Linked DNA regions of Homo sapiens: region 2 is linked to region 1. The links are contacts of gene promoters, found by promoter capture Hi-C in human tissues and cell types (Jung and others, 2019). All regions are on one chromosome and are shown on one strand. Each heading gives the region's core, a stretch centred on a gene start or on the middle of the fragment in contact. The rest is flanking DNA. Distances are from core to core; before and after follow the strand shown.

What was found. The method cuts DNA at HindIII sites, captures the fragments that hold promoters and counts their contacts. A contact is called where the count stands out against the background at its distance.
Region 2: a fragment that was not itself captured here is called in contact with the fragment with the promoter of ZBBX in region 1 in 1 of the 25 tissues and cell types used here (dorsolateral prefrontal cortex).

The regions. Positions count from the first base shown.
Region 1 is chr3:167,378,776-167,382,294 of GRCh38, reverse strand. It overlaps ZBBX (zinc finger B-box domain containing), which reads left to right and starts at 1,998. Exons shown (of 22, transcript NM_001199201.2): 1 at 1,998-2,048; 2 at 2,503-2,657. The HindIII fragment of the contact is 5,963 bases long and covers 1-3,519 here.
Region 2 is chr3:167,760,868-167,764,386 of GRCh38, reverse strand. The region is part of intron 1 of SERPINI1 (serpin family I member 1); the gene reads right to left. Among named protein-coding and RNA genes, the nearest start is that of SERPINI1, 27 kb to the right of the region's middle. The HindIII fragment of the contact is 3,198 bases long and covers 350-3,519 here.

The DNA of each region.
Region 1 (3,519 bases), core at 749-3,248:
TCTGAAAGACAAGCACTTCATACTTTTTATTTTACTATGTGACTTAGCATAGGCTTAGTTTTTGTCTCTGCTTTGCCTTTTCATAACTGTGCATAAGCTATTTTTCTAAATATAAGATAATGTTCTTTTAATGCTTTCAAAAAGTGCAAGAATACTTTATACATTATTTTTATGAGTTTAATTTTACTATTGTGTAAGTAAATGCATTGTAAGAATCATTTTTTGGAGTAAAAGTCCTTTGTAGAAGTGAGGAGAAGTTATTTGCAAAATAATCTTTACTGGGACATAATTGACATGTGTTTACTGTTCTCTCTGGACTGTTTCTTCCTCTAGTGGCCCATGTCTTTCTCTTTCCTTGCATTCAGATACTTCCCTGGCCATCTACCCTAAAACAGAACTCAATTAGTTTCTATTTCTTTATTTGGCTTTAGTTTTCTTCATAGCAGCTGACATGCATTTATACTTGTTTATTGCCTTTCTGCTCCTGTTAAAATATATTTGAAAATAGGAGGGGCTTTGACGATTTCTTCACTCCAGTATTTTTGGGATCTAGGAAATGGACTTTCAATAAATATTTGTGGAATAAATAAATAAATGAATAGATCAGTAAATGGACGAAAGCTGAAAATATCTTTGGTAATTTGAAGAGCGCGCCTGTATGGGAAATAGTCTGTGCAAGAAAACCAGTAGTATCGCACATCCACCTGAAACTAGTTCTTGTATTAAAGTTAAAGGAAGGACGTGGTAAAGTTATACCATGAACACGTTAATAGCAACCATCATAGCCACACCAGCACCACTGTTTCTTACTGTTTATTAAGCACTCAATATGGGCCTGGCTTAGAGCTAAATACTTAATATTTATTGTTTCATTTACTCTTCCATACTACATTACGTATGGACTAACTGTACTGTTATCTCATTTAAGCAGTTAGACTGAGCATTGTTACTTGCTCATGGTCACACAGCAGGTAAGTTGTGGCAGTACTGGCACTCAATCTTGAATCTGCCTGACTCCAAAATCCAGACTTATAACCAGAAGACTACCATTGTCTTCTCTTATCCATAGTGGTTGTAATCTTATATAATTGAATATGCCAAGTGAAATCATTATTTTTTTTTAAATGGGTATTGGCAGGCATAGTAATGTCAAAAGTAATGGTGTAAAGATTAGTACATTAACTGTAATAGTTAGGATTGTTAGTCTGGTACCGAGACAGATGCAATGTGGTTAAGCATAGAAGCCTATACAGTGCAGTACCAACCACACATCCTACTTGCAGTATTTAAAAAGGGAGATAAAAAACAGCATATTTAGGAAGCCAAAGATAAATTCACTACAGGTGCAGCTTTGTTCGGAAGAGTTGAGTTGAGAATTGTGGGTTAACTGTGTGTGTGTGTGTGTGTGTGTGTGTGTGTGTGTGTGTGCATATATTTGCTTTTGCTTTTTGTTTTATACCCATTAGACTCCACGGGTCATGTATTCGGTACAAAGAAAAGAGAGTTCTGGACTTTTGAAGAGACCTGGAATCTCTATTGACTTTGCCTATGGTAGCCATTGATAAATCATTTAAACATAGCATAAATGTGGGAGTTCTGAGACTAAACTCCTTGAATTAATTTGTAGGTCTGCCATTTGCTAGCTTTGTAATTTTGGATTAAGATAGTCAAATTTTTTGTGCCTTAATTTTTTTAGATTTAAGCTGGCTTGCTATGAGGAAGAATCAAATATGACATATAAGTCTCTCACTTGTGCTTGGAATATGACACATGCTCAGGTTTAGCACATACATAATCTCCAAGATCCTCTCTGGCGGAAAGCTTCCAGAGCCTGTTGAGTTTTTCCGCCCTTTTCCTTCCTGTGATCACCATTCTCTCTCATTTCGCAGGCTCCTTTTCGCCCTCTGCCGGCGGACAGTGGCAGAACCCAGCTTTCTGGTTGCTATGGGTACCGAGGTAACGCGGTAACCAAGGAGACCAAGACGGAAACTCCCGGCAGCTATCCGCGGCCATCCGGCGGTGGTGACGCGAGAGGCTGGGGTCTCCAGGTGGGTTGTCTGTCTGCGGGTGGATGAGAGGGGAGGATGGTCTCTGAGTCCGCCTAGCGGGCAGCAAGCCCGGGCTAGTTGGTGCGGGGAGCAGAGCGGGCAGCGCGGCTGGGAAGCAGACTCAGCTCGGGTGGAGCTGGAGGCACCGGCCCAGCAAGTGTTTGCTGAGCCCCTGCCATAGGCTGACATAGTGCCAGGCCTGCAGGCAGCAGGACGGGGCCCTGGCCTCAGGAGTTGAAAGCCTTTGGTATACACCAAAGACTTCCCAGCCCAAAATGCTAATGGATAAATGAATCAAGAGTGAACCCCAGACAGTGAAATTGGGGACTTCATCAGTTGTACCCCTTCTGCAGCCCGACCCTTTCAAATACTAGCCCCTTTTATCCTTTGAAGTCATTTGCACCTTATGAAAAATTTGGCACCCTGAGAAACCATATTTCATCCCCTTTTGTAGCCTTTAGTCTGCCTGCGCGTTCACATGCACCCACTTACTTCTTGAAGTCTACTCCTCACAAGTAAGGGCTATGGTGCGGGGTGCCCGATTCCTGAGAAATCTGAAGATGTGGAAGTTTATTTTTTCTTCCCAAAATCAGCAGTAGAGGGACTCAGGTATGTAAGGTTCAGTTATATATATTTTATAGCTTGACTTAAAATCTAAAGTTAACAAGGCTCATTAAAAAATATAGTAAAGTTGAAACTACACAGGATTAAAATTATACAAACTGTATGCTTATGCAAATGTAATGACTCCCTCTGCCTTTCTCCAATTTAGCTTATCTTATAGTCTACACAGAGGGCTGCCCTGACCTGTCATAATTTTACCAATTGTATTACAAATGAATTGTTTGAAAGTAGTTCCTTTATGTCTTTCAAGACACTTAATAATTCTTGCAATTATTTTATTCGCTTTTTAATTTTTACCTACTTCCTTCACCAGAGTGTAAGTTCAGTGAAGACTGGTATTATACCTGTCTGGTTGACCTTGATCCTCAGTGCTTAACCTGACACCTGGCAGGGAGAGAGTGTTCAATGTATATTTGTTGATTGCTCATCAAGATCGTTAGGAAACATGGAAAAAAGAAAACAAAAAGTTTAGTTGAAGTGGGAAAGAGGGCGTGTTTAATTTTTTCCGTAGGGTAGGTTGTGCAAAAAACTAAAAGCAGTAGAAAAAAAATTACATACTTAGCACATTATTATTGGCACTACATTATGTATAGGGACTGTATTGATTGCTGGGGTTTCAAAGGTCAATGGTAGGACCACTCTCAAATATTTGGGCTACTTAGGGAAACAAAATCTATATAAACAAAGATGCAAAAAATAACACAAGGTAACATACAATAGCAAATGAGTTTAATAAACATGGTCTTTCTATACAAGGAGAAGCTCGGTTTCGATGGAGGGAATCTTCATGATACAGGCAGCCTTCGAATTGAGCATTGAGTAGAATAAAACTTGGTGAGCAGAGAGG
Region 2 (3,519 bases), core at 699-3,198, 380 kb before region 1:
CATGTAAGATATGACTTGCTCCTCCTTGCCTTCCACCATGATTGTGAGGCCTCCCCAGCCACGTGGAACTGTAAGTCCATTAAACCCTTTTCCCTGTATAAATTTGGGTATGAATTGATCAGCAGCGTGAAAATAGACTAATACAAATGTGTTTGGCTTAATAATCACAGCAGTTAGCACCATCTGTTGATTGCTGTCCTCAGTGCCTGTGGCAGGAAGGCTCTCTGTGGTCAGTTTTCTTTTTGGTTGTGGCTCTCTTGCTGTTCCTTACTTTTTAGCCATTATAATTGATGCAATTTAAAAATTATTTAAGTGTTTTTTGCAATAAAGATACCAGGAAACAAAAGGTGTCCTTGGGGAGTGAGTTAAGATTTAGATCCTAGTATAATTCAATAGTGTGTGCTCTCTAAAGATCATTAGTATTATTAATGTGAGGCAAAAGTTCTAGATTAAATAGCTTTTGGGAGAATATAATTTATTCAGAATGACATGACTTTAAAGTGTTTTCATAACCTATTATTAAAAAGAGAGACAATACAACTATTTCTCAAACCTGGCACTTCTGAGTGTGTGGTCTGGTGATTGCTACTTCAGAATTTCCTAGGAGATGGTTAAAATCCAGTTTGGGGGTTACATCACCAAACTCTTGAAAAAGAAATTCTACATATTGACCTCAGTTGCCTGTATTTTTAACGGATATTTCAGGTGATTGTTAGACACACTCAAGTGTGGAAAACGAGCTGGTAGAATACCAACTGGGATATGCCTGTCAGTAAAATCGTGGTATAGCAGCCTGAGCAACATGTTGGAACTGCGTCTCCACCAAAGATACAAGATAAATTAGCTGGGCGTGGTGGTGCACACCTGTGTTTCCAGTTACTTGGGAGGCTGAGGTGAGGGGATTGCTTGAGCCTAGGAGGTGGAGGTTGCAGTGAGCCAAGATCACACCGCTACACTTGAGCCTGGGTGACAGAGTAAGATCCTGTCTCAACACACACACACACACATACACACACACACACACACACAAAACTGTGGTTGAAATATGACAGTGGTGGCATGAGAGGAATGGGAAACGAGGAAATAATTGAGCAATAATTACAAGCCAGACCACTTATTCCTTTGCAATCTACTAGCTGTGATTTTTATCTTTTTTTTCTAGCATTATTGCCTAACATCAATTTGCTCCCTAGACTGCAAGCTCCATGAGGAACAGAAACCACATCCGACCCACTTAGGACTACCAGGACCTAGCCCACTGCTTGGCCCAAGTCTGCACTCAATGTTTGCTGAATGAATGATTTAGGTATATTTTCCCTACTTACACATGAGCCAACTGAGACCTGGGGACTTTGGGTAGATTACCTAAAATGACACAGCTGAAAAATAGTAAGCAGAGAATCAATCAGGTCTGGCTCCAAAGTCCAGACCCCTTCCTTCCCAACATCCCCTCCTTGAATTGAATGTCACCGGGCATTCAATTTGTTCGTAAAGGAGGCTTCTATCTACTTTGCCTGTTAAACATTCAAGTCTTCAAAAACCTCTGTAAGGAATTTTATTTAGAAAATAAGTCATGTAGAATATTAGAATGTGATAAATATCCTGGAAAAAAAAAACCTCAGTGAAAGGGGATAAGAAAGTAAGGAGGTGAGAGGGAGTATCGCAATTTTAAATAAAAAGATTAGGAAGCTTCACTGAATAGGTGATTTTTGAACAAAGGTTTCAAGGAGGAAGGTGAAGAAGCTAAACTCTGGATATCTAGGGTCAGAAGCCAGGGATTAGCAAGTGCAAATGCTGAGGAATGAGTCTGGTTAATCCACAGATCAGCAAGAAGCCAATACAGGTGGAATGGGGAGGCTGAGGTGGAGAGTGAAACTGAAAGCCTCATTAGACTGAGTTAAGGAAGAATGGGGAACAAAAATTTAGAAACTGAGCAAAGAAAACTCTTGAAGAACAGTAGCTGGGTGGAGAAGGGAGTAGTCAAGAAAGAGTTTTCTTCGTTTTCTAGTTTGTTTAAGACAGGAGAAAAAACAGCACGTTTGTTTCCTAGGGGTAATGATCTAGGGGAGGGGGAAGTTGATTATTTGGAGGAGAAGGGCACTGCAGGAGTGGTATCATGAGGAGAGGAGAGGGAATGAAGTCTAGAACACAAGCAGAGGCATTGACCTTATAGAGAAGCACCGACAACGTATCTATAGAAACAGGAGAAAAGGTAAAGTACATGGGTACAGATGCTTTTGGGTGGAAACAAGTGGTAGTGAGTGTGGAAGTTTTCTGAAGGTTTCCCTTTTCTCTGTGAAATAGGACATGGGGTCCTTCATCGAGACCAAGGGTGGAAGGAGGTGCTGGAGAACCTGTCTTAAGAACGTTTTTCATGGCATTCTACTTATAGGGAAAGTACCATACTAGGTATTTCTGCTTAAACATATGGAAATATCTTAAGCACAGACTCCTGCCAAGGTAGTATTACTCATCTTTGCTTAGAATTAGTTTGGAAAATAAATTGTACAAGTAATGAATTTTGAAAAATAAATAGAGATTGAAAACCTTCTCCTCTGTTCCCATTTGTGTTGCAAATTTATTCTCCCCAAGTTATTTCATGTTCTGAATGTCACTGAGAAATTTGGTAGATTGCTGAGCTGCACCCCAGAAGTGAGTTTCTAACTATAATTTAATTAGAAGGGTCATAACTACGTTTTACCATATGGGGCTGCCAGATGTAATCAATGCAATATAAGTTTGAAGAAGACATTATTGAGTGTATTGAAGCACATTTTATAAGCAATGAAAGCTATCATTTATGCAACAGAAATTACTCTAATGTCTTATGGAATTAGGACATGAGTAGACTATACAATGGTTGGAGGGTGGGTTAAGGTAGAATGAGCCTACACAAGTCAGATAATAAAGGTATTACTCACTAGTCCTCCACCCCACCACATCAATCAAATCTTTAAGGCAAACATGGCTTAAAGTTTTTATGCTACTACATTTGATGATACAATTAGAAATTGTTACAATTGGGAATTTAGTTTTATTAACAGAGAATCTGGGCAAAGGCATCAGCCATTAAATAGAGGCCCATAAAGTTTTTAACCTGGGGACAATGAATAGTTTAACAAACTAAAATTTCTATCACCAAACTTTTCATCTTTTTATTTGGGTTCTTCAAGCCTCAAAGCTGTTGCAACCCAGTGGCTAGTCTTGCAATGGATACACTTATAAAAACACCTGCAATCCCAAATGTATTAAGTCTATTGTTCGAAAGTCTGAAGGCAGGCTTGGGGCAAAAGATCACACGTGAGTAAACCATATGAGGCACTGTTTTCTCCCTCTCTAGGTTAGGTTAAAGGTTCTTATATAAGCAAAGAGTTCATTTGTTCTAAGGAACAGCTGTTGTACTAGTGTTAAATCTTGTTCAAATACAGATGCATAAATTCCGCATGTCACCAAAACAATGACACAAGCTCAAGATCCAAAACTACCCACCCTGCAGAAAATAATCATTTGGTTTAACTC